4 separate regions of the Homo sapiens genome follow, and all the other regions are linked to region 4. Evidence: promoter capture Hi-C in 16 types of primary human blood cells and fetal thymus (Javierre and others, 2016). All regions are on one chromosome and are shown on one strand. The core of a region is centred on a gene start or on the middle of the fragment in contact, and the rest is flanking DNA. Distances in the headings are between cores, read along the strand shown.

The links. Contacts are between HindIII fragments. The CHiCAGO score rates a contact against its expected background, and 5 or more counts as called.
Region 1: a contact is called between a fragment that was not itself captured here and the fragment with the promoter of SFTPA2 in region 4, in 4 of 17 cell types (M2 macrophages, megakaryocytes, endothelial precursors and 1 more). The highest score is 5.7, in M2 macrophages.
Region 2: a fragment that was not itself captured here is called in contact with the fragment with the promoter of SFTPA2 in region 4 in 4 of 17 cell types (M2 macrophages, erythroblasts, M1 macrophages and 1 more); the score reaches 8.2 in M2 macrophages.
Region 3: a fragment that was not itself captured here is called in contact with the fragment with the promoter of SFTPA2 in region 4 in 5 of 17 cell types (M1 macrophages, erythroblasts, M0 macrophages and 2 more); the score reaches 9.6 in M1 macrophages.

Annotation. Positions count from the first base shown.
Region 1 is chr10:79,950,371-79,956,972 of GRCh38, forward strand. It overlaps a transcript of SFTPD not described here. Among named protein-coding and RNA genes, the nearest start is that of SFTPD, 4.6 kb to the left of the region's middle. The HindIII fragment of the contact is 3,710 bases long and covers 1,431-5,140 here.
Region 2 is chr10:79,973,271-79,979,966 of GRCh38, forward strand. It overlaps a transcript of SFTPD not described here. Among named protein-coding and RNA genes, the nearest start is that of SFTPD, 28 kb to the left of the region's middle. The HindIII fragment of the contact is 3,460 bases long and covers 1-3,363 here.
Region 3 is chr10:80,000,054-80,007,102 of GRCh38, forward strand. No RefSeq gene overlaps it. Among named protein-coding and RNA genes, the nearest start is that of SFTPD, 54 kb to the left of the region's middle. The HindIII fragment of the contact is 3,135 bases long and covers 220-3,354 here.
Region 4 is chr10:79,557,270-79,563,749 of GRCh38, forward strand. SFTPA2 (surfactant protein A2) reads right to left here and starts at 3,138. Exons shown (of 6, transcript NM_001098668.4): 1 at 3,095-3,138; 2 at 2,700-2,729; 3 at 2,043-2,237; 4 at 1,617-1,736; 5 at 783-860; 6 at 1-316. The coding sequence starts at 2,214. RefSeq lists enhancers at 1-20, 4,819-5,332. The HindIII fragment of the contact is 5,002 bases long and covers 158-5,159 here.

The DNA.
Region 1 (6,602 bases), core at 2,036-4,535, 390 kb after region 4:
GGTCTTGTGGTGACAAATTCCCTTTGCATTTGTTGTATGGGAAAAACTTTATTTCTCCTTCATTTATGCAGCTTAGTTTAGCAGGATACAAAATTCTTGGCTGGCAGGATTTTTGTTTAAGTAGATTAAACATAAGACCCCAATCTCTTCTGGCTTGTAAGGTTTCTGCTAAGAAGTCCATTGTTAGTCTGTTGGGTTTTCCTGTATAGATTAGACATTTCTCTCTTGCTGCTTTTAGGATGTTTTCCTTCACATTGACTTTGGATAGTCTGATGACGATATGCCTTTATGAGGTTTCTCTTGTAAAGCATCTTCCAGGTGTTCTCTGAGCATCTCCTATCTGGATGTCTAATTCTCTAGCAAGACCAGGGAAGTTTTCCTGAATTATTCCCTCAAATAGGTTTTCCAAGCTTTTAATTTTTTTTCTTCTCCCTCAGGAATGTCTATATATTGTATATTTGGTAACTTTATGTAATTCTATATTTTTCAAAGTCTTTGTTCATTTTTAAAAATTTATTTTTTCTGTATTTCTGTCTGACTAGGTTAATTCAAATGACTGGCCTTCAGGCTCTGAAATTATTTCTTCTGCTTGGTCTAGTCTTTTGCTAAAAGTTTCAACTATATTTTATAGTTCCTTCAATAAATTTTTATTTCTAGAAGTTCTATTTGGTTTTTGTTTTTTAATCTCTATCTCTTTTGTAAATTTTTCATTAATATCCTGAATTATTTTTCTGATTTCCTTATGTTAGTTTTCAACTTTCTCTTGTATCTCATTGAGCTTCCTTACAACTCATATCTTAAATTCTTTATTTGTTATTTCAAAATTTTTATATTGGTTAGGATCCATTGCTAGGGAGCTGGTGTGATCCTTTGGGCATGTCAAAATACTGGTTTTTCGTACTTCCAGAGTGCTTATGCTGATTTCTTCTCATCTAGAGAACCCGTTACTTCTTACTTTTGAACTTACTCTCATTTGAATGGGATTTTTTCCCCCTTTGAAGGTGTGACTGTATGTTGTGTGTGATCATTTGGCTTCAATTTTGGGTGCCTTCCGTGGGTCACAGCTCTGTATGAGTTCCTTGGTCATAGATAGCTTTTGTGTGGTGGCTTTATTATGCTGTATAGATAGCTTTTGTGTGGTGGCTTTATTATGCTGATTGTAGTAGCAATGTATTGGGCATATGAGCAGGAATACTACCTTCTGAGGGGCTGGGAATGTGGAAGTCTCTGAAAGTTTATCTCATTCCCCAGCACTATACCCTCTGTCAGCCTGTTTTTTATTTGGTTGTGCAATTCAATCTGCATCCCAATAAAAGCTGGCTGTGGCATAAGCTGATGGGTACTTGGTCTTTGTTTTCTGGGAGGGGATCTCTGTTGTCACAGGCAGTTGGCTGGTCTGTGGATGGCCTGATTCCCTGAAGGGAACACAAAGCTTTGGAGGGGGACACAAAACTGAGGGGCACTAAACGACCAAGCTCACCCTGGGAAACCCCAATTATGAGCAGAAGCAACTGCCTTGATGGGAGTGGAAATGGGAGCTCATGGTGAAAGGCACTGATGTCTCCACCAGAGTGGGAAGGAGTATACCAGCTCCACATCCTGGGAAGGCAGGAAGGCAATCCACTTTCCTAAAACACCCTTGTCCCGGAGCTTGTGACCTTCAGTTCAGATAGACATTGTCCTTCATCTCCAGGCTGCAGTGTGATGGAGGTCTGCAGAAAACACCCGTCCTGTGGCTACCACCAAAATGGCCTTGGGATAGAACCTCTTCCCTCAGCAGCTCTGATATTCATCTGCATTCTGCTATGGGAATGCTGCTGCTCCATATGGGGAGGAGGATAAACTCTGCCCTTCGTGCAAGGCTTGGCCAGCAGGCACCCCATCAATGGGAGTGCAGCTGCCCCCAGGAGCCCTCAAAAGCCATCCCCAGGTGCACTTGTGCCAGCTCCCAGTAGGGACAGCCAACGGTCTATCTGGAGCATTGAGTGAGGGGGTAGGAGAAGACTCCCTTTCCATGTTTATTCCCAGGCACCAGTGTCACCTGCCTACTGGTGCAGAACCACACTCCTCCCCTTCAGACCCCAGAACCATGCCTGTGTCTCTGCTGGGAGGGGCACAGCCAGCCTCTTCTCACACGTGGGGAGCTCTTAGGCAGAGGAGAGCAAATGAACTGGTTTCTTTTATCCAAAGGAGTACGTTGGCACAGACACTCTCCCTTCTCCTAAGAGCTAGACTTCTAGGAATTCCATAGCTCCCCAGGGTCCCACCCGTCCCCTGTGGTTGCTGCAGTCTAAGTGGGTTCTGGGGAATGTTCATGGAGGATCTAGTGATGCAGAAACACAAGGGCTGGGATTCCTTGGGAAGAACAGACCCACAATGGGTGCATAACCAGTATGACACCTGCCACTTCAACTCAGGTTTTGGGGGAGAGCGAGTGTGCCTGCATGAGCTGGCCACCCAATGCTCTGCCCTAAAGAAGTTCCCAAATTGCCACTGACAGCAATGCCTGGGCTCACAGGTGCAGAGGGTTTCTCCAACAAGTTCAGCAGTCCATAGTCTGCCACAGGAGTGAGGGGAGCAACTTCCCCTCCTACCCTCTCCATGGGACTCTATGTTCCTTGGAAGTCAATCTCTGCAAAACTCTTGCTGTCTTCTTTTTCAGCACCACAGCTTTTTCCTGTGGGTTCCCCAATAGGTCATGTCACTCATTCCTCAGTATTCCACTCAGACCATGATTATTCAACTGCAATTTTGGTTCTTTGTTCTGAGGAGAACTGGTGTCCAATGTCTCTAGACAGCCATCTTGGGGAAAGGAAAACTCTACTTGTCTTTATAATTACTTTTACCAGTGAAACTTATACTTTTGTGTGCATTTGTGTTTCTGTTTAACCTCTTTTTATTTCAACCTCGAGAACTTCCTTTAGCACTTCTTGCAAGGTGGACCTAGTGGTGACAAACTCCCTCAGTATATGTTTGTCTGGGATAGTTTTTATCTCTCCTTCACTAATAAAAGACACATTGCTGGGTACAGAATTCCTGATTGACAGGTGGGTTTTTTTTTTTTTTCTTTCAGTACTTTGAATATATCATTTCATTCTCTCCTGGTCTGCAGGGTTTCCACTGAGAAATCTCGTGATAGTCTTTTGGAGGTTCTCTTTTATGTGACAAGTCAGTTTTCTCCTGCTGCTTTCAATTTTTTTTCTTTGTATTTGACTTTGGACAAACTAATTATAATGTGTTCAGTATAGACCTCTTTGGGTTTGTCCTATTTGGGAAATTTTGGGCTTCATGAATCTAGATATCTGTTTCCTTCCCTAAATTTGGGAAGTTTAAAGTTACTATTTCTTTAAATTTTTTAAATTACTTTAAATTCTACCCCCTTTTCTCTCTCTTCTACTTCTGGGACACCCATAATACACAGAAAGGTTTGCTTCATCGTGTCCCATAAGTCCCATAGGCTTTCTTTACTCTTTTTTATTCTTTTTTTCTTTTTGTTCCTCTGATTGGATAATTTCAAATGACCTGTCTATGAATTTGCTAATTCTTTCTTCCACTTGATTGAATCTCCTGTTGAAGTGCTCTATTCAGTTTTCAATTCAGTCCTTGAGGTCTTCAGTTCCAGGATTTTTGTGGGTTTTTTTTTTTATATAGTTTTTATTTCTTTGTTATACTTCTAATTTTGTTTATGTATTGTTTTCCTGATATTTTTTCATTGCCTTTCTGTGTTCTCCTGTATCTTGTTGAGCTTCTTTAAGATGATTATCTGAAATTATCTGTTGAGCAGATTGTGGTTTGGTTTGGTTCATTTCTTTTGGTTTGGTTACTGGAGCTTTATTAGATTTATTTCATGGTGTCATGTTTGCCTGATTCTTTATGATCCTTGTATGCTTGCATTGGTGAGTCTGCATTTGTACAAGCAGCCAGATCAGAGATTCTGGGTAGGTTGGCTGATAGGGTCAGCAGACAACCCGCTGTTGGTGACCACAGGTGGGCCTATTGCTGAAATCTGTGGGTAGGTTTGCTGCATGTGTGTGCTTGCTGCAGGTGTCCGCACATGGAGGACCTGCTGCTGGGGTACACATTTGAGCAGGCCTATTGCCATTGTCTGCAGGTGGGGTCTGCCTGCTGTCAGTATCTGCAGGTATATTTGGCTAATTGTTGTAGTGGTGGGTGGGTGGTGGGTGCTGCAGTAGGGGTCTGCAGGTGGGCAGGTTGCCTTGGAGTTTGTGGATGGAGAGGATCACCAACAGGTCTGCTAGTGTGCATGGTCACTGCTAGTTTGCAGGAGGTGGAGCTGTTTGAGTTCTGTTGACTAGCCTTCTATTGGGGCCCTGGATGGACAAGTCTGTTAATAAGGGAATAGGATTTCCTTCTCAATGAGGCTTTTTGCAGTCTTAAGTCCCCCAAGTGTTAGGAGAAAAGCTGAGTGTTGGGAGAGAAGCCAAGGCAGGGCTTGGAACAAGTCCACAGTGCAGAGTCTAAAACCCCTGGTGGCCTTGGGAATGTATCTAGACTTGCTGGCTCCTTGCTTCTAGCACTCCCATTATCTCAAGTAGCCATATGCTTCAAAGAAAATGCTAAACCATCACAGCTATAGCTCATTCACTTGATACACCACTTCCTTTCAACCCCCACATCCTCACCACCTGTTTCTTTGTTTGATCACCAATAAATAGCTTGGGCCTCCAGAGCTTGGGGCCTTCGCAGCCTCCATACTAGCAGTGGTCCCCTGGTGCCAATTTCTCAACTTGTCTTTTCTCATTCCTTTGACTCCACCAGACTTCGTAGCCCCCACAGCCTGGTGTTGGGTCTGATCACCCCAACACCAAGGAGCTGGAACCTTTTACTTGGATCCCAAATGTTTTATAAAGGCATTTTGTCCATGAATAGTTGTTAAATTGGTATTTCTGAGCAGGAAGGAAGGCTGGGGATCTTCTGTGCTGCTATCTTCTTGGTGTCATGAGACTATAATTATAATGTTTTGAAGAGTAAGGTTTTATCTTAAAATATTTACCACCTTGCTTTGCAACTAAGTTGCAAAGAAAGACAAATATAGGGATCCTGAAGTAAAACAAAACAAAACAAACAAACAAACAAACAAAGAAAACCCTGCCATACCTTATGTTCTGCAAAATCTTGAAGCTTGATAGTCTAAACCTGTAATCCTCCACCCCCTCTCTCCACCACAACCTCACAGAAAAGGTAGGATTGCTTATGCTCAGGTGCTATCTGTTGTTGCAATCTAATCTGTTCACTAGATTCTGCAACAATTGTCAATGGGCTGAATCCAATTCACATGCATATGCAGGTTCTATGAATGTCTAACCTAATAAAAATGACAAAGTGAGAGTGCTTGAAACTACCTTTTTGGATGAGAATTCTAGGCACTTTACTCTTTGTTTCTTTAAATATTAACACAATAAAGGAAAAACACTTCACTGTGTAGCTCTATTATTCACTAGAGAAAGGAGTGGTTAAAGAGAAACATCTCTACTGCATCCTGACTGGTATTACTTCTGTCTCCTGCATCATTTGAAACTACTGAGAAAGAGCATGTCTTTTAATCTTACTATTGATAACTGAGTCAAAGACAAAGAGGCAGAAAAAAATATGAAGCAAATGTTGGCGGGAAGTAAAGAGATACAACCATACTAATTTCAAAAAAACAGAATTTTCATCTAAAAGCATGACTTAAAAAATCGTTATAGAATCCATCTGATTTTATATGAAAATGATTTATATATTTATTGTGAAAATGTTAACATTGTGAGAAAAAAGTTTAAAATCACCAAAATGGGGATGGAGCCAAGATGGCCGAATAGGAACAGCTCCAGTCTACAGCTCCCAGTGTGAGCGACACAGAAGACGGGTGATTTCTGCATTTCCATCTGAGGTACCGGGTTCATCTCACTAGGGAGTGCCAGAGAGTGGTTGCAGGACAGTGGGTGCAGCGCACCATGCACGAGCCAAAGCAGGGCGAGGCATTCCCTCACTCAAGAGCACAAGGGGTCAGGGAGTTCCCTTTCCTAGTCAAAGAAAGGGGTGACAGATGGCACCTGGAAAATCGGGTCACTCCCACCCTAATACTGTGCTTTTCCAACAGGCTTAAAAAATGGCACACCAGGAGATTATATCCCGCACCTGGCTTGGAGGGGCCTACGCCCACGGAGTCTCGCTGATTGCTAGCACAGCAGTCTGAGATCAAATTGCAAGGTGGCAGTGAGGCTGGGGGAGGGGCATCTGCCATTGCCCAGGCTTGATTAGGTAAACAAAGCAGCCGGGAAGCTCGAACTGGGTGGAGCCCACCACAGCTCAAGGAGGCCTGCCTGCCTCTGTAGGCTCCACCTCTGGGGGCAGGGCACAGACAAACAAAAAGATAGCAGTAACCTCTGCAGACTTAAATGTCCCTGTCTGACAGCTTTGAAGAGAGTAGTGGTTCTCCCAGCACGCAGCTGGAGATCTGAGAACGGGCAGACTGCCTCCTCAAGTGGGTCCTTGACCCCAGAGCAGCCTAACTGGGAGGCACCCCCCAGTAGGGACAGACTGACACCTCACACGGCCGGGTACTCCTCTGAGACAAAACTTCCAGATGAACGATCACG
Region 2 (6,696 bases), core at 384-2,883, 410 kb after region 4:
CAAGGATACATCATGGATCTTCAAGCTGTAGGGGAGTTTCCACTGGTACATTAAAAATATCTTTGAAGGCCAGGCGCAGTGGCTTACATCTGTAATCCCAGCACTTTGGGAGGCCGAGGCAGGTGAATCACAATGTCAGGAGTTCAAGACCAGCCTGGCCAACATGGTGAAACCCCATCTCTACTAAAAATACAAAAATTAGCCAGGCGCAGTGATGGGTGCCTGTAATCCCAGCTACTCAGGAGGCTTAGGCAGGAGAACTGCTTGAACCTGGGAGGGAGAATTTGCAGTGAGCCGGGATCCCGCCACTGCACTCCAGCCTAGGCGACAGAGCAAGACTCTGTCTCAAAAAAAAAAAAAAAAAAAAGTCTTAGAAAACGAAATGTTAATTTCCTTGTGTTATTTTATCAATATACCCTCTGTCCCATCTTTTTTACAATTCCATTAGTCCTTTGCATTGTCTCCTTTCATATATACATGTGAGAGCAAGGACAGGGTACCCAGCTCTAGTTCATAGCTTGCATCTACAAAGGTGCCAGTCTGGAATAACACCACAGTGTCATGCAGTGAACTTCTTGGGATGACTCTGGATGCATTATGCCAAAGGGTTTCTTTGGTTTGTGTATGCAGAGCACAAGTGCCAGAAAATTCTAAACTCATTTTTTACTGGTGGATTACTCCAAGTAGAGGATACTTTTCCACATAATGCTGATTACGTTAACTGTGAAATTAGGATCTCTGTGTGTTTCACAGACAGACAGACACACACCCACACACACACAAATAGTAGCATCACAGATTCCCCTTAAATAAGCTGAAAAATTTATTTGACAGCATTAGGACTATGCCGTTAGTTGTTTTATTCTCAATTATACCCCCAGATATTTTTTATTTTTATTTATTTATTTTTTTTCTGAGACAGAGTCTTGCGCTGTTGCCCAGGCTGCAGTGCAGTGGCACGATCTCGGCTCACTGCAAGCTCTGCCTCCTGAGTTGACGCCATTCTCCTGCCTCCGCCTCCCGAGTAGCTGGGACTACAGGCACCTGCCACCACGCCCAGCTAATTTTTTTTTGTATTTTTAGTAGAGACGGGGTTTCTCGATCTCCTGACCTCATGATCTGCCCGCCTCAGCCTCCCAAAGTTTTGGGATTACAGGTGTGAGCCACCACACCCAGCCACCCCCAGATATTTTTTATATGCCATCAGAGATGAGACAGTCTAGTATTTCTAGTCATGCCTATATTTTCAAGAGTGATGTGATCATAGTTCTCTGGTTCATTAAAAAAATCTGATATTGGCCAATTTTAAGATACATACAAAATATATCTCTATGTATATATACCTCTCCATCTATCTCTAAATGCATATAAAGTGTATCTCTCTGTGTCTATATCTACTTCAACAATCCCGTCACCTCTCCTCATCACACCCTTCTATTCTTGTTTGTATATATACAGATGTGCCTACAGCTAATGTTGAAAGAGGAGGAGTCTTTTCTTTGGCAGAAATGCCGAGACCAGCTCGGTCAGGGAGACCTCTAACCCAGCAGTGCTAGAGGAATTAAACATACACACACAGAAATATAGAGGTGTAAAGTGGGAAATCAGGGGTCTCACAGCCTTCAGAGCATTAATTAGCATTGTTTCTATAGACATTCGATTAACTAAAAGTATCCCTTATGGGAAACAAAGGGATGGGCCGAAATAAAGGGGTGGATCTGGCTACTCTGAGTAATTTAAAAGGAAAGGGCTCAAATGTAGCTATAATATTTCCCTGTTGATCTGGGGGGGTGTATTCCAACAGGGAATCACCAAGCCTCTAAATCACTCTCTCATCTAGCTTGCTGAATTCCTGCCTGACTAGAACTAAGAGCAGTCGCTCTAGGTGCTGCTCGAACAGTCACTGGGGCAACTACTTTTTGCCCAGTGTCCTCCGGAAAAGAAAGATCTGGAAGGTCATTTTCTTCAAAATAATAAGGAGGGGGTGCAGAAGGGTAGGGATGAACCTCTCCCTCCTTTGCCACTTTAGCTTCAGCTGGTAAATAAAACTGCTCTGTAACCTCTTCTGTTACTTTGTTATACTCTCCTTCCTCCTCCTCATCAGTGTGAAAAAGTTCCTAGGTGGAATGAACCAGACCCCACACTTGTCCCATTGTTACCCTGATGCTTCCAAGCTCCCCTTCTTACTCACCACGGGGATTGCTTTAAGAGTACTCAGGTGTCCTCCAGCTTAGTTCCACATTCTCCAACTGTTGCTCCGGCGACCCTTCGACCTGGATTTGAGTCCCCATGATGGACACCACTTGCTGAGACCAGCTCAGTCGGGGAGACCCTAACCCAGCGGCACTAGAGGAATTAAACCCACACACACAGAAACAGAATTGTAAAGTGGGAAATCAGGGGTCTCACAGCCTTCAGAGCTGAGAGCCCTGAACAGAGATTTAACCACGTATTTATTAACAGCAAGCCAGTCATTAGCATTGTTTGTATAGATATTCGATTAACTAAAAGTATCCTTTATGGGAAAGGAAGGCATGGGCCCAAATAAAGAGGTGGGTCTGGCTAGTCATCTGCAGCAGGAACATGCCCTTAAAGCACAGATTGCTCATGCTATTGTTTGTGGCTTAAGAATGCCTTTAAGCGGTTTTCCACCCTGGGTGGGCCAGGTGTTCCTTGCCCTCATTCCAGTAAACCCACAACCTTCCAGCGTGGGTGTTATGGTTATCATGAACATGTTACAGTGCTGCAGAGATTTTGTTTATGGCCAGTTTTGGGGCCAGTTTATGGCCAGATTTTGGGGGGCCTGTTCCCAACACAGAAGTGGTGGGCTATACCTTGTGAAACAAGAGTTCTGGATACAGTGGCCTTAAGAAAAACAAGTTTCTCTTTTGGCAAAAGAATCAAAGTGATGGCCTTTGGTTCTGAAAGGAAAGAGTGACTCCAGTAGCATGAGGACTTTAAGATTTGGGGAAACTTGAATTGCCAAAGGCAATAAATGGTGCTGAAAGCTGGAGTTCAGCTGGTTTTGTGGTCCTGGTCAGCCAGCCCAAAGAAGCCTGAGATCCAGGCTTGCACAGTGGATCCTATCCCATCACCTGACAGCCTGTGCAAAAACACATCTGCATGCTCCCAGAAGTCCCTGGCTACTGAGTCAATCATATCTACTGCTCTGGGAAACCACAGAGTTTGGGAGGGTGAGTGATAAAATGGCTGTTGAAGGAAGTCTGGTGCCAGAAGAGTGATGGCACCACCACTGCCACTGCTGCCAGAGTCCAAGTCCAGGCTGGAAAAAAAGGGCTTTTCTCAGTAAAGCCATCTGCACCTAAAGGGAAAAACCCTGAGGATTCAACAAGAGCATAATGAAGCTTTCCACCTCCCCCTTCTGAGAACTGGGGACAAGAAGTCTTCAAAACCAAGTTATGGGACTAGCAGGCCACTTCTAGTTCAAGTGGCATGGGTCATTGGGTGCTGCCTGGCAACCATCCTCTCAGAGTGGGTGATATGGTTTGGCTGTGTCCCCACCCAAATCTCAAGTTGAATTGTATCTCCCAGAATTCCCACATGTTGTGGGAGGGACCCAGGAGGAGGTAATTGAATCATGAGGGCTGGTCTTTCCCATGGTTTTCTCATGATAGTGTATAAGTCTCATGAGATCTGGTGGATTTATCAAGGGTTTCTGCTTTTCCTTCTTCCTCATTTTCTCTTGATGGCAGCCATGTAAGAAGTGCCTTTCTCCTCCCACCATAATTCTGAGGCCTCCCCAGACACGTGGAACTGTAAATCCAATTAAGCCTCTTTTTCTTCCCAGTCTTGCATATGTCTTTATCAGCAGCATGAAAACAGACTAATACAGTGGGGAAGAAACTATAGGTGTGAGACGTGGCCATTTCACCTCTGGAGCCAAACTCAGCTTAGTTCCTGGCTGGGTGCCAAGGATTTATTCTTTAGCAAAAGTCTCTGCAATTAGTGACCCTCAATCAAGATCTTTTTACCCTGTGGAATCCCTCCCAACCACAGGACTCACTGTATTGGTGCTCTGCTCACAAACAAGCCCCAGCTGAAACCTGAGGCCAGAGAGCAACCTACTAGCTGTGAAGAATCCTAGAGTTCCACAGGACATTACTTCTATTAATACTCATAATGTTTCATTTAGTTCAAGCAAGCAGCTTTTCTGATACTCAATCATAAACAAACAACAACAACACACACATACACACACACAGTGCTCACACATGCACAAAGCAACATTGTAATCTATTTGATGTATCTAGTTTCACAGGTAATCAGTCTCATTTACAAATCAATCTGGCTAGTTTTTCTTGTCCTCATGGTAATATAAGGAACTTGTGTTTTTCAGGTATCTGTGGTGAAAGAGCCCTCTTGCCAGCTGGAATTATTTAAATGTAGCAATTTTCATCCAGTCATTGCTTTACAACACAGATGTGATATCCACAGCCTACTAAGGAGTTGTTACAGATTTTTTTCCATTTATACATGAAGTAGGTCTTCAGATTTACTTCTTTTTTTTCCTTTCTTTTCCACCTTTCTTTCTTCCTCTCTTTCTTTCATTATCTTCAATTTTGAGGAAAGTTTTATTTTTCAGTAAAGAGATCTTGCATGATACCTCACATCTTTCATTTAACCTGTTCTCCAGCACCACCCTTCTCCCAGCTTATTAAGCAGTGCAATCTTTGTCTGAGTTCAAGAATTTCTTGACTTACCCTGACAGTAGCACTCAAGAACAGGTGAGCCTAACCACTTGCAGTCTGTTTACCTTTTCTTTAAAGTGAAAAGGAGGATGTCCCATTTTTTGCCTTTTGGTTTTTATCAGATGATATAGCTTTGCCATAATTTGTAGTTACAGTAGATTAGTTACCATCTGTCCAAGATGCAATGCTGTTTGGTATAATCTATGGGACCTAACATAGGGGTGCAAGGATGGTTCAACACATGCAAATCAACAAATGTAATACATCACAACAATAGTGTGAAGGAAATATCCATGTGATCATCTCAATAGATGCAGAAAAAGTATTTGATAAAATTAAACATTCTTTCATCATAAGAGATATTACATTCATCACAACAAATTAGGCATATGCTGGGTGCAGTGGCTCATGCCTGTAATCCTAGCACTTTGGGAGGCCAACGTGGGTGGATCACTTGAGTTCAGGAGTTCAACACCAGCATGGGCAACATGATGAAACCCCATCTCTACAAAAATTACAAAAATTAGCCAGGTGTGGTGGCACATGCCTGTAGTCTCAGCTACTTGGGAGGCTGAGGTGGGAGGATCACTTGTGCCTGGGAGGTTGAGGCTGCAGTGAGTCAAGATTGTGCCACTGCACTCTAGCCTGGGCAGCAGAGTGACACCCTGTCTCAAAAAAAAAAAAAAAAAAAAAAAAAAGGTATAGAATGAATGTACCTCAACAAAATAAAGGCCTTATATGACAAATCTACAGGTAACATCATTCTCAATGGTGAAATTCTAAAATGTTTTCCTTGAAGATTAGAAACAAGACAAGGATGTACACTCTTGTTACTTCTATTTATCAAAATACTGGAAATCCTAGCCAGCTCAATTAGGCAATAAAAAGAAAGAAAAGGCACCCAAATGAAAGAAAGAAAGAAAGAAAGAAGTAAAATTGTCTGTCTGCAGATTACATTATCTTATATTTAAACCCTAAAGACTCCACCAAAAAACTGTTAGAATAAATAAATTCGGTAAAGTTTCAGGATACAAAACCAAAGTGCAAAAATCGGTTGCAATTTAAATACTATCAACAAACTATCAGAAACAAAAATTAAGAAAACAATCTTAAATAGCATCAAAATGTTAAACTATCTAAAAATATCATGAGAAAACATAAACCAGAAAATAAAAAATAAATAAAATATCTAGGAATAAATTTAACCAAGCAGGTGAATGATCTGTACACTGAAAAACAATAAAACATTGATAAAAAATTGAATCAGGAAGCAGAGCAAGATGGCCAGAGCCCTCCAATGATCATTCCCCATGCCCTGCAGGAACACCAACCTGGACAACTATCCGCACAAAAAAACACCTTCATAAGAACCAAAAATCAGGTGAGCAATCACAGTACATGGTTTTAACGTCATATCAAGGACAGAGGCAGTGAAGAGGGAAGGAAAGAGTCTTGAATTGCCTACACTACCCCCATTCACTGGCAGCATCAAGTGGTATGAGAGAGATCTGTGTACTTGGGAGAGAGAGAGCAAAGTGATTATGGAACTTTGCATTGGAATGCTGTCACAGCAGAAAGCAACACAGGACACAGTTCAGCCAGCACTCACAGAGGAAGCATTTAGACCAGCCCTAGCCAAAGAGGAATTGTCCATTCCAGGGGTCAGAATCTGGATAGACCCACCACCATGGGATGAAGTACTCTGGGATCCTAAATAAACTTGAAAGGCAGTCTAGACACAAGGACTGAAATTCCTGGGCAAGTCCCTATGCTAGCTGGGCTCAGAGCCAGTGGACTTGCTTGAGGTGTAGGTGACCCAGTGAGATATCACCTGGAGTGGCCAAGAAAGTGCTTGCCTCACTCCTCCCCGCCAACTCCAGGCAGTGCAGCTCACAAATGTGGGAGAAAAAAGAGTAAAGGGGACTTTGTCTTGCAACTTGAATACCAGCTCAGCCACAGTAAAATAAAGCACCAAGCAGAGTCCTGA
Region 3 (7,049 bases), core at 537-3,036, 440 kb after region 4:
TCTTTTGGGTATGTGCACTATATTTCAATAAAGTTTATTTTCAATAGCCTACATGTCTTATCTAACCTGTACTCCTCCTGCCTTTCCTCTCTGACATCATTTTCTACTGTCCACCCCTCCGCCTCACATAGGCACCATCTAGTGGTATTGGCCTCCTTGCTTTTTCTTAAACATCTCAGGCTCCCTCTCACCTCAAGGCATTCCAACCTCTGCCTGCAAAGCTTCCTGACCTCTCATGATCCCCATATCCCTTGAATCACTCCTTCATCCCCCTCTCAGCCTTTGCCAGGTGGCCTTTTCAGATAGGCTTACTTTCATCTACCTATTTAAAGCTGCAATTCTCCAAAAATTCCTAATCCCCCTTATTTTATTTCCTTTTTTCACAATGCTATATTTTCTCAGTAATAATTTCTATTTCACTTATGATTACTTTCTGACCCTCTCACCCCTTCCCAAACACACTAAATTGAAAGCTCCAGAGATTGTTGGATTTTGTCTATCTTGTTTACTGATATTGTCTCAGAGCCTAAAATAATGCCTTACAAAAGTAAGCACACAATGAATATTTGTTGACTGGATTAATTAGAATGAATAGGTATGGATCAGGCCCAAAGTGTCAAGCACTGACGTAAAAGCCCTGAGCAAGATAGGCATGCCCCAGAAATAGAAATAGCAAGGCAGAGACTATGAGTGGAGTAGAGCGAGTGCATGCAGGGAAGGAGGAAGCGAGGTTACAGAGTAGATGGAGGTCAAATCATGAAGGGCCATGGGGCCAAGCATGGTGGCTCATGCCTGAAATCCCAGCACCTTGGGAGGCCGAGGTGGTGGATCACCTGAGGTCGGGAGTTCAACCTCAGCCTGACTGACATGGCAAAAAGCCATCTCTACTAAAAATACAAAAATTAGCTTGGCCTACTGGCACGTGCCTGTAATCCCAGCTACTGGGGAGGCTGAGGCAGGAGAATCACTCGAACCCGGGAACAGAGTTGCAGTGAGCTGAGATAGCGTCACTGCACTCCAGCCTGGGCAACAGAGCAAGACTTCATCTCAAAAATAATAATAAAAATAAAATAAATAAATAAAAATAAAGGGCCATGAAGCCATTGTAGGGCTGACTTTTGTATGAAATGGAATCAGAGGGAAGGTCCAGAACTAGGTAAGGCAAGTGAAAACTCACCTGGAATGCAGAAAGAGACCCAGTAATGAAGATAAAAAGTATTTTAATCTAACAGTTTATAAAGAATGAAATTGACAAACTATAGCCAACACAATGGATATTTGTTGTTTATAAATAAAGTTTTATGAAAAACAGTGCCAGGATATGATTTACCAGTGAAGTGGCTTCACTTGTGCAAGTTAGAGTTAGATCCTGATATTATTTAAAACTTCGATATCTTGTTCATCGTGAATTTTTGCACAAATTTTTAGTTTTTTAAATGTTGCCATAATATATTTATTGGATTTCCAGTTTCTGATCTGGCATGTAAGATGCTTGGAGGTCATCACTCCCATCCACAAAACATAAAAAAAAAACCAGTTAAACTGAAAATCAATAACTCTTCCTAGATTTATGAGAGAAGTGAGGTCACAGGCAAACTGCTGCCCTTTAAATTGAAGACAGACAGGAAGATGCAGAGAATCAAAACAAGGAGCAGAAACTGACTAGCAGAAACCATTGGCAGAATAGGAAAAGCTGCACTGCAATCAAGAGTTGCTGGAAGCACAGTATGGCCAGGCTTGAGAGTTAAAAATGCCAGGATAGTCCAGCCTTTGTTGGCTTTAGTCCCAAGAGTCCTACCAGGTTCTCAAAGTAAAGATCAGAGAAAATTCTCCTTGTGCTTTATGTAGGATGAGAGGAAAAGTAGACATTATGAAATATGCTCAGAGCATTCTCTTCTTCTTAAGGGATGCCCTCGAAAGAACCTATTTCACCAGAGCCTTCCCAACAGGGATTTTACCAGAACCTAGCTGATGTAAGAGAAGCAAAATTGCTAACTGCAATTGGGCAAGAATATGAAAGTAAAGGTGTTATATTGGAAAGGAAAAAGTGAAAATTTTCAGATGACATGACCTCTCATAGAGAAAATCCAAAGGAATCTAAAGACTGTTATAGCAAGTAAATGAGGTTGTAGAATGCAAGATCAAAAATTTTAAAAATCAGGCCAGGTGTGGCAGCTGACTCCTGTAATCCCAGCATTTTGGGAGGCCCGGGTGGGCAGATTGCTTGAGTCCAGGAGTTTGAGACCAGCCTGGGCAACATGGTGAAACCCTGTCTCTATTTTAAAAAAAGAAATAAACAATCAGTTTTATTTCTGTATACTGGCAATGAACAATTCAAAAATGAAAATAAAATAAACCTATACACAATATCATCAAAAAGAATAAAATACTTAGAAATATATTTAACAAAAAGATTCAACATATGCACACTGAAAACTTCAAAATGTTATTAAAAGAAAATATAAAAGATCTAAATAAATGGAGAAATATCCCATGTTTATGGATTGGAAGACTTAAACTCCCAAAAAGAGATCAACTAATACTCCCAAAAGAGATCAACAGATTCAATTCACTTCCTATCAAAATTTCAACAGCCTTTTTGCAGAAATTTACAAGCTGAACCTAAGATTCATTTAGAAATGCAATGGACCCAGAATAGCCAAATTAATCTCGAAAAAGAAGTACAATATTGGAGGACTTACGCTTCCCAAATTCAAAACTTACTACAAAGATATAACAATCAAGAAAGTGTGGGCTGGGCGCATGGCTCACGCTTCTAATCCCAGCACTTTGGGAGGCCGAGGCGGGCAGATCACGAGGTCAGGAGATCGAGACCATCCTCGCTAACACAGTGAAACCCCGTCTCTACTAAAAAAAATACAAAAAATTAGCCAGGTGTGGTGGCAGGGGCCTGTAGTCCCAGGTATGCAGGAGGCTGAGGCAGGAGAATGGCTTGAACCCGGGAGGTGGAGGTTGCAGTGAGCCAAGATTGTGCCACTGCACTCCAGCTTGGGTGACACAGCGAGACTCTGTCTCAAAAAAAAAAAAAAAAAAAAAAAGAAAGAAAGAAAGAAAGTGTGGTACTGACATAAGACAAAACTTATAAATCAGCTGAATAGAATTTAGAGTCCAGAAATAAACCCATACATCTATGATCCATTGAGTTCAACACCAATGCCAAGACAAATTCAATGGGAAAAGTATAGTCTTTACAAGAAAAGGTATTAGAACAACTGGCTATCCACAAGGAAAAGAATGAAGTTGAATATCTATCTCAAGTTACATACAAAAATTAATTCAAAAGGGAAGGAAGGCCTAAGCATACAAGTCAAAACTATGAAACCATCAGAAGTAAGCTTACCTGACCTTAGATTAGGCAACAGTTTCTTAGACATGATACCTAAAGCAGAAGTAACGAAACAAAAACTAGATAAATTGGCTTCATCAGAATTAAAAACTATTGTGCATCAAAGAACACTGTCAAGAAAGTTAAAAGTCATCACATGGTACGGGAGAAAATATTGATAAATCATTTATCTGTTATGGATTTAATATGCAGAATATACAAAGAATGGTTAAAACTCAACAATGAAAACACAAACAGCGCAATTTAAAAATGGGCAAAATGACAGGCCAGACCCAGTGGCTCATGCGTGTGTAATCCCAGCATTTTGGGAGGCTGAGGTGGGTGGATCACTTGAGGTCAGGAGTTTGAGACCAGCCTGGCCAACATGGTGAAACCCTGTCTCTACTAAAAAAATACAAAAATTAGCTGGGCATGGTGGCACATGCCTGTAATCCCAGCTATTTGGGAGGCCAAGACATGAGAGTCATTTGAACCAGGAGGTGGAGGTTGCAGTGAGCCGAGTTTGTGTCACTGCACTCCAGCCTGGGCAACAGAGCGAGACTCTGTCTAAATTAATTAATTAATTAAATTAAAATGGTCAAAATGAAAATTTTTTCTGGAAATAAGAAACACAAAAGCCAATAAGCACATTAAAAGATAGTCAACATCATTAAACACTAAGAAAATGCACACCAAAACCACAAAATGAGGCCTGGCACAGTGGCTCACACTTGTATTCCTAGCCGAGGCAGGAGGATTGCTTGAGGTCAGGAGTTCAAGACTAACCTGGCTAACACAGCAAGACCCCATCTCAAAAAAAAAACAAAAAAAAAAAAACCCACAAATGACACCATGGCACCACTCACTAGAGTGACTATAAGTTTTTTTTAAAACAATGTGTTGGCAAGGATATAAAGAAACTGAAGTGCTTATACATCTCTGGTGAGAATATAGAATGGTGAAGCTGAAGGTGGAAAACAATTTTGAGTTCCTCAAAAAGGTTAAATATAAAGTTACCGTATAACCCAGCACTTCCCCTAGTAGATACATACCTAAGAAAACTAAACAAGCTGGGCATGGTGGCTCATGCCTGTAATCCCAGCACTTTGGGAGGCTGAGGCGGGCAGATCACCTGAGGTCAGGAGTTCGAGACCAGCCTGGCCAACATGGTGAAATCTCATTTCTATTAAAAATACAAAATTAGCCAGGTGTTGTGCCAGGCGCCTGTAATCCCAGCTACTCAGGAGGCTGAGGCAGGAGAATCGCTTGAACCCGGGAGGCTGAGGCTGCAATGAGCCGAGATCACATCACTGCACTCCAGCCTGGGCAAGATAGAGCAAGACTCTGTCTCAAAAAAAAAAAAAAAAAAGCAAACTGTAAACCTATGATGACACAAAAGCTTGTACACTAGTCTTCATAGTAGCATTATTCATAATAGCCAAAAGGTGAAAATAACCCAAATATTCATCAACTGAGGAATGGATGAACAAAAAGAACATTAAAAGGAATAAAGTACATTGGGGGAGGTTGACATGGGGAGGGATAGCATCAGGAGAAATACCTAATACAGATGACGGGTTGATGGGTGCAGCAAACAACCATGGCACATGTATACCTATGTAACAAACCTGCAGGTCCTGCACATGTGTCCCAGAACTTAAAGTATAATTAAAAATTTTTAAAAAGGAATAAAGTACAATACAATATGGATGACCATTGAAAATAGCAAGCTAAGTGAATGAAGCCAAAAACAAAAGGCCACATATTGTGTCATTCCATTTATATGAAATGTCCAAGGCCGGGTACAGTAGCCCATGCCTGTAATCCCCACACTTTGGGAGGTCAAGGCAGAGGGATATCTTGAGTCCAGGAGTTCGAGACCAGTCTGGGCAACATAGCAAGACCTTGTCTCTACAGAACATGAAAGAAAGCCAGGGAGGATGGCTTGAGTGCTGTTGCCAGGGAAGGAGAGGAATGTGGATGTGGAGTGGCTGCTAATAGGTACAGGATTTATTTTTGGAGTAAAGAATATGTTCTGAGTTTAGATAGTGGTAATGATTGTACAACCTTTAGAATATACTTAAAGATGTTGAATTGTATAGTAATTTAAATATATAGCATTTAAAATGGCAAATTTTATAGTATACAAATTATATCCCAATTTTTAAAAAAATGACTATGCCACTACTTACTGAATCCACAATTTCCCCTCCAGAGGCTAAAGAGTGATTTCAGTTCCAGAGGCAAAGTCCCCACATGGTCACCATGTGCTTCTTCAAAACTGACAAAAACTGGACCAGGACTGGTCTGCAAGAAGGGCAAACTTCTCCTTGACTCTTCCTTTCATGTTTCTCAGACCCGAGTTCAGAGAAAGATGGGGCAGGCTTGGGGGCCTGGGGGTCTTCCGAGAGGGTACAGAGGTCTTTCTGGAAGGGATGCAGGACGCTGGAGATCCCAAGCCTCAGAAGGAACTTTGACCTCCACCGGGTGCTCACTGTGGGACACCTTTCCGCTCCTGCTACAAAACCACTCAGTGCAGGATGAATCCTGGAGCCGCAGAATGGCTTACTGATCTGCCAGGGCCTCCCAGGAGAGTACAAATGCCTTGAACCTCCAGGTCTGGGTACGGAGCCTCTTCAAGTCTCTTCAGCCTTGAACAAAAACCCAACAGGACCCAGGACCTCACCCACCTTCTCACTCACATTCTACCATCCACATAACAAGACTTAAAGGTGTTCAATGCTGGCTGGGCATGGTGGCTCATGCCTGTAATCCCAGCACTTTGAGAGGTTGAGGTAGGCAGATCACCTGAGGTTGGGAGTTCGTGACCAGCCTGGCCAATGTAGTGAAACCCCGTCTCTACTAAAAATACAAAAATTAGCCAGGCGTGGTGGTACACGCCTGTAATCCCAGCTACTTGGGAGGCTGAGGCAGGAGAATCGCTTGAACCTGGGAGGCAGAGGTTGCAGTGAGCCTAGATAGCACCACTACACTCCAGCCTGGGCAACAAGAGCAAAACTCCATCTCAAAAAAAAAAAAAAAAAAAGGCCGGGTGAGGTGGCTCACGCCTGTAATCCCAACACTTTGGTAGGCCGAGGTAGGTGGATCATGAGATCAGGAGATCAAGACCATCCTAGCTAACACGGTGAAACCCCATCTCTACTAAAAATACAAAAAATTAGCCAGGCGTAGTGGCATGCACCTGTAGTCCCAGCTACTCGGGAGGATGAGGCAGGAAAATTGCTTGAACTCAGGAGGCAGAGGTTGCAGTGAGCTGAGATCACGCCAGTGCACTCCAGCCTGGTAGACAAAGCAAGATTCTGTCATAAATAAATAAATAAATAAATAAATAAAGGTACCCAATGCTGTACATGCAACAATTTCCTAAAACTACCTCAAGAACAGGATATCTGGTTGACTCAATTTGTAAAAGGGACATCTAATTTATATGAGATGCCAGATATATCTGAATTTTTCTCTCCCCTGGCTGGACACTAATCCTCACCTGTAATTGCCAGTAACTTAGTCCCTACCTCTTGTTTCAAAAGCTAAAATTCACTTTTTTTGTCCAGAAAATGCAAACCTGGATACCTCCCTTCAGAGGATAGAAGTAGATTTGTAGAGAAGGTTAGGGATAGAGAGGAGGTAGGCAGGGGAGATGTAGATATAACATAGATATAGATACAGGTATAATTTACATAGA
Region 4 (6,480 bases), core at 1,888-4,387:
GTGTACATCTCCACACACTGCTCTTTTCCCCGACCTGCAGGCTCCCCTCGGTACCAGTTGGTGTAGTTTACAGGGGTCCCATCTGAGTAGCGGAAGTCTCCAGGGCTGGGACCCTCAGTCAGGCCTACATAGGCATATGTGTTGTACTTCTTCACGAAGCTTGCAATGGCCTCATTTTCCTCTGGATTCCTTGGGACAGCAATGCGGCCGCCTGCTCTGGCACATGCCTCCTGAATGGCATCAAAAGTGATGGACTGCCCATTGCTGGAGAAGACCTTCTCTCCTACTGTCATTATGGAGCCCTGCAGACTGAGGGCTGAGAGCAGAGGAGTCCAGGTCAGGCCACTGACCACTTTGTCTCTAAGCCACCTCCCTCACCTAGGGTCTCTGCTACCAGATTCTCCCCAGTCTCTCCATCTCTGCCTCTCTCTGTGTCTTCTCTTCCTCTTCCAATTGCAGTTTTCTAAATTCACTTTTAGACTCTCCTCCATTTATTCATTCATCTAAGTAACAATTACTTATTGCCAGAAATGGTGCAATTTCCTAGGATTCAGTGGAAAGCAAGACAGGCAGAGAACTTGCTTTCTTATGAAATGGGGAGTGAATTGTGTCTGCTTGTCTCCTCTTGGCCATTCAAAGACATCAGAAAAGCAAGCATCATTCCTTTCCCCAACACCTGCATGTGCACGCTTGTTTGTCATCTCTATTCTAGAAGGTGGTGCTGAGAATGAGGGGAATTTGTGGGAAACTCCTACCCCGTGAGGCCCAGGGGGTCCCCTTACCTCCCCTTGTCTGCAGGATTTGATGTCTGAAGTCGTGGAGTGTGGCTTGGAGCTCCTCATCTAGATGAGCTGGAAGCCCTGTGGAGAGTGCCCCACACAGAAGGAGGGGCAGGCCAGTGAAGACTCCCACTTGCTGCCACGCAGGCGTTTTGCCATCTGCAATCCTGGAACTCTGCCCTTTCATTGCTGTTAGGCACCACCCAGACCCTAGGCTCAGAGGGTCCACGAGATTCCAGTGTGTCTCCACACCCCGTGGTCCCCTATTCTTTAGTGAAGCCTTGCCCCTGCTGAGACCCCCACCCCTTGTCCTCTTTCCTGCTCTGTCCCTCGAGGGGTTCTGTCTGCCCGCCTCTGTGGGGCAAGTCCCTCTCCCGCACCCTCCACCAAGGGCAAGCATGATGCTCTCTGCACTGCCCTGATGGACTTGCTTACCGCTCTGAGCTTCAAAGTTCCCCTCTGTCTGTGGGGCTCCTGATCACACCATCTGCCTGGATGCCTCGTCCGCATTCACCCTTCAGACTGCCCCCAGGGCCTCCATCCCAGGACATGCCTCCCCTGCCTCCCAGTGCTGTCCCTCGTCCCACACCTGACTCAGTGTGTCCCCATCAGCGGTCATGAGGCACGGAGGACTTCCCACACCTGCCCTTCTCTGAATTGTGACCACACTCCCCAGACACCTCGGCTTTCTCCCTCAAATTCATATTCTCTTACTTAGGTTGAGCCAAATGCCCTTGGGGAACCTGCAGGGTTTGTCTGACCCCCATCACCCCTGTGTAACTGACTTCAGGTCGCTGTGCCCATGTTTCCACTGCCCACCTGCCCCGCCCTGCTCACCTGGAGGGCCTCTCTCGCCAGCCTCCCCCTTCTCTCCACGCTCTCCAGGGACACCAGGGGCTCCAGGCAGCCCATTATTCCCAGGAGGACATGGTGTTTCTCCAGGCGGACCCATGGGGCCTGCAGAGAAAAGAGACATGGATGTGTAGGATCTGTCACCCACAACTGGTTGGAGCTAGTGAGACTCGATGCCCATTATCACCGGGGCTGGCTCAGCTATCACTCCGTGGGCACTATGAGGACAGACTCTCCAGGATGCGCCATCATAAGGGCCCCAGGAACCCACCACCCCTGCAGACTGAAGTCCCACCCAGCTTACTATAGCCCCCAGCTCACTATGGCCCACAGCCTAGGGGCCTGGACAGATGGGCCTCCTGAAAAGGGGTCTGTGTCCCTCAGCTGAGGGTGGGGTCTGCAGCACAGTACCTGGAGGGCCAGGGTCTCCTTTGACACCATCTCTCCCGTCCCTGCCTGGCAGGCCGTGGGATCCAGGAGTGCCGGGGATACCAGGGCTTCCAACACAAACGTCCTTCACTTCGCACGCAGCACCAGAGGCTGCCATCAAGATGAGGGTGAGGGCCAGAGGGCACAGCCACATGGCTCTGGGTCCAGTCGCTGCTCCTGCCGGAGGGATGGCCGTGAGCCCATCTGCCACCTCTGCCAACATCTCCCCCACTGTGCTCTGTCAGGACTCAGGAAGCTGGGCAGAGCCCGAGAGGCAGGGCGGGCGAGACCAGAGTGCTGGGAAGACCCGAAGCACCCGGGAAAATTCCAAGCATCACCTGGCACCTGGCATGGCCTCATGCTTCAGGCCTCCGGCTGGAGGTTGTGGGGTCTCAAGACTGCTGAGGAGGAGGAAGAGTAAGGAGCTCTGGGGAGCCCAGGGACCTGGGCTCCAGTGCAGTCTCCTTTCTTTCAGTGCCTCACTATGTTACCCTGGGAAACTGGCTTCACCTCTCTGATTTCAGCTGAATCTTCCATGCTCTGCAGAAAACCTGCCCTGTCCCTCCCAGGCTGTTAGAAGGAAGGATGAGGTCACTCACTCACTGACTCACTCCATCTGTCCCTCATATGCCCAGTTACCTTCTTTTCAGGCTCCAAGAAATCAGCGACCTGAGAATGAAAAGAGATGAATAGGGCCCACAGCCTGGACCCTTCAAGGTGATCATCGGGGGGTGATGACCCTCTCACAGTCAGTGATGAGGTCTTCCTTCCTCTTGGGGTCTGTTCTCCCACTCCCCCTGCTTAGGCCCTGCTGAGTCCCTGGTAGGGATGGATCTGGCCAAGGAAGATATCAAAGCATGAGGGTCTTTGTAGGTCATCCATGTTGACCATGCTGTGAAACACCTCCCAGTGGAAAATGGGGAGTTGCCCTCCTTCCCAACCTGGGCCTTGGTCAGGCCTGTGGCTGCTGGGCTGGTCCTCTCTGCCTGCGATCCTCAAGCTGGAGAACACCTAGGGGATGTGGCTAAACTCACCCACACACAGAGCCTCCAGCTGCTTGGGTCTCTGCCTCCAAGTTAGAGCATAAAGGTGGACAACAGAATTTATAGCATGTGGGCTGCCAGGCTTCTTCCCCACCCCTGAGAGCTCTACCACAAAACCTGTTCTCCAAGCAGGAAATAGGCATAGTGTTTACACAGCACATTTCCCTGCAGAACACTCAGGCTGCAGGAATACTTAGGACCCTTGAGGGGAGCACAGAACCTGGTAAAGAAAAATACCAGGTCTGTAAGAAGAGAAATGCCTCACTGGCTAAGGTCACCCACTCTGCACTCAGGGAGCTCCACTGGGTTCCTGGTTTAGTTTCAGACAATGAAGAAGTCACTGCTTCAGCTGAGGTTGGTCAGGTTGATCCAGGCCAACCTGTCTGCCCTGTAACCTTGCTCAGCTCTGAGCCCCAGGACCCCCAGCCAGTGTCTCTGGAGCCTGCAGCCGAGTTGGTGGGCACATGGACAGAGTGGCAGGCAAATATGCTGCACGTTCCACTTCCCTCTGCCCTAGCAGGTTCAGCTGGAGGAGTCAGGGCAGCACCTGGAAGGTCATGGGAGAGCTGCAGTTTCTGTCTTTGGTAGAACATCACTTTGGGTGATGTCTGGCAACCTGCAATGGTGATTATGCTAAGTGTCCCAGTGATATATGAAGCCCTAGTTGTTAGGGTCCTGGTTTGAGCATCTGGATTAGGAGGGAATCTCCAACTGTGGAGGTGGTAATGATGGGAACCCAGACAGGAAAATCTCCCCTGGCTTATTTGGAATTGGTTTGAAAAATCCCAAACCATTGAGGAGTTTGGAGCTCTTCCAGGGAGCGGAAGCTCAGACAACGGACCCCACTCCCAGGAGCAGGAAGCTGGGCAGTGCCAATTTGTAGCATGGAGTCTTTCAGCTGCCCCAGTGCTGTCTGCCACACCATGTGGTGGGTGCTGGGCCAGGTGTGGAATGGGGGAGTCAGGCCAGTGCAGGTTGGGGGCAGGTGGGGCGAAGCTCCAGCAACTTGGCTGTGGGGAGGCAGGGCTGTTTTGCAGGTGATGAGCAGGAACAGAGGCCAACTTGGATGTGCAGGGCCTTGTGGTTGGCAGGGCAGGGCATGGCTTTAGGGGAAAGGCACACCTGAGTTTTGACCCAGAGCTGTCACTTATTAACCAGGTGGCCTTGGTCAGTTTCATTTTTCATTTTATTATTCTGAAACAACATCAAAATTACAGAAAAATTGCCAGTATCGTACGACTTTTTTTTCCCCTGAACCTATGAGAGTAGGTTGTCAACATGAAACCCCAACACCCCAATACTTTAATGTGTTTTTCACGCAAAGGCATTTTTGCATTATAACCGTAATCAAGAAATAAACACGGATACAATAACTCCAAATAGCCTTCAGGCCCTATGCAAAATGTACACAATGCCCCAATAGTGTCCTTTATAGCAAAGGATCCGTTTCTGAGCCATGTGCCTTATTCGGTTGTCACGCTTCTCCAGGGTCCTGAAACCCACAAAGTCCCTCTGTCTTCCCTTCACCTTCATGACCTGAACACAGTGTGAAGATCACAGGGGAGTTACTGTGTAAAATACCCCTCACTTTGTTTGTTTGTTTGTTTGTATTGCCTTACAGTTAGATTCAGGTTCTGTAACTTCGGCAGAAATACCATCGACACCCGGCTGCGCTCTTCTCCCATTCTACCCGGCAGCATGTGACTTTAGTTTGCCCCAAGACTGATGATGTTCGTGTTGATCATTTAATTAAGGTGGTGGGTGTCACAATTTGCCACTGCAAATTTATTCTTTTTCTGATTTTAATCAGTGACTATGTTGTGGGGACGCACTTTGGGACTATTGTAAAGATCCCATCCCTCATCACGCTCTTTGTTGCCCTTTGATTGATTTGTAGCAATGTGGACTCGTGAGTGAGGCTTGCCACCGACCGCCAGGGGGAACCATGCACTCGCCTGCGTGCTGCAAGGGACACTATCCGAGTTTGATGTTGAGACAGGTACAGTTTACCAGCACATGGCACCAGCAAATCTAAAGAATGTAGTTAAGAAACACAAGCTTGTCATTCTTAGCACTAAGAATTGCTGCAGTCCCTGCTGAGTTCCGAGTGTCCAAGCCAGGCCACTCTGCCGCGTCCACAGCCTCCTCCCCCTGCTCAGGCCCCATTGCCCTGGCCGGTCCGCTCTCCTTCAGTGCCCTTCTCACTCTCCTAGGGGCTTCAACCCCCATGCTGGGCCACCTCCCTCTGCGGGGACATCCTCTTCACACTGCCAGGCCCTGGGTGCCCACGCGAAGCCACCTCAGAGTCCACAGTCTCACTGCACTCCGAGTCCCACTCCCTGTGGCAGGACCCCCTCCTCACCCAGTGTGACTGAAACCAGGAAGACGACGCTTTTTAAGACTGAAGGGGCACAGAGTGGGAGCCATGCACCGCCCTAAGAACAGCCCACGGGGGTCTCTGCAGATTCGAGACCTCTCTCTCAGTGCTCAAGGGACTCTTTCCTTCCCCTTTCTCCAGCTGCACTGGGTGCTAGCAGTGGGAAGAGGCTGTCTGTGGCTGCTAGAGCTTTCCCGTCGTTTTGGATCATTGCAGCACTCTATGAGGCGTACAGAGAGTAAGTAAATCCCCATTCCATACTTCAGTCAACTGAGGCTGACAGGGGTTACATGGATTGCCAAAATTACCCAGAAATCCTCTTTCCAGCTCAGTCCTCTGCTAGAACCTTCCCAGAGTCAGAGGGATGTGCTTAATCTACCTGTACCTGGAGACAAAGAGATGCATAAATAGATTTACTAATTATGGATATATTTCAAGATCACTTCTACTGTCAGAATCTAAGGGGCAGCTCAGCCACATTAAGGGAATGGAAGTTGACGCTTCTTTTCCTTGATGCAGCCAGCATACTAAGCAATTATGTGTGTATGTATTATAAATATATGTACACACATATATTGTGTGCTGTATATTTACACACATATCTATATTACATTGGCACATCTAATAAATGTCACTGCATTCTTAAAAAGCATAACACAATAAATCTTTCTATGACCTAGAAATGACAAATTTTAATTTTCATCAACACAGCCCTCTCACCTCACTACCCTGAGCATTTTGAGTCTTCCAAACCCCAGAGAAACACGTCATGTTTTATTAAGGCTTTGAGGTGAGGGAGACAGTTTTTCCCATTCTGCGCCTTGGAGGAATTGAAACTGGCAGATGGCAGCAACTATCTCCAATGAAATAGGCTCAGGAAAACACACGTGCACATACACACACACACACACACACGCACACACACACACTGACTTTGCATCAATAAGACCATACTGCAGATACTCTTCTACAATAAGTGTTTTCTCTTACATACCCCAGC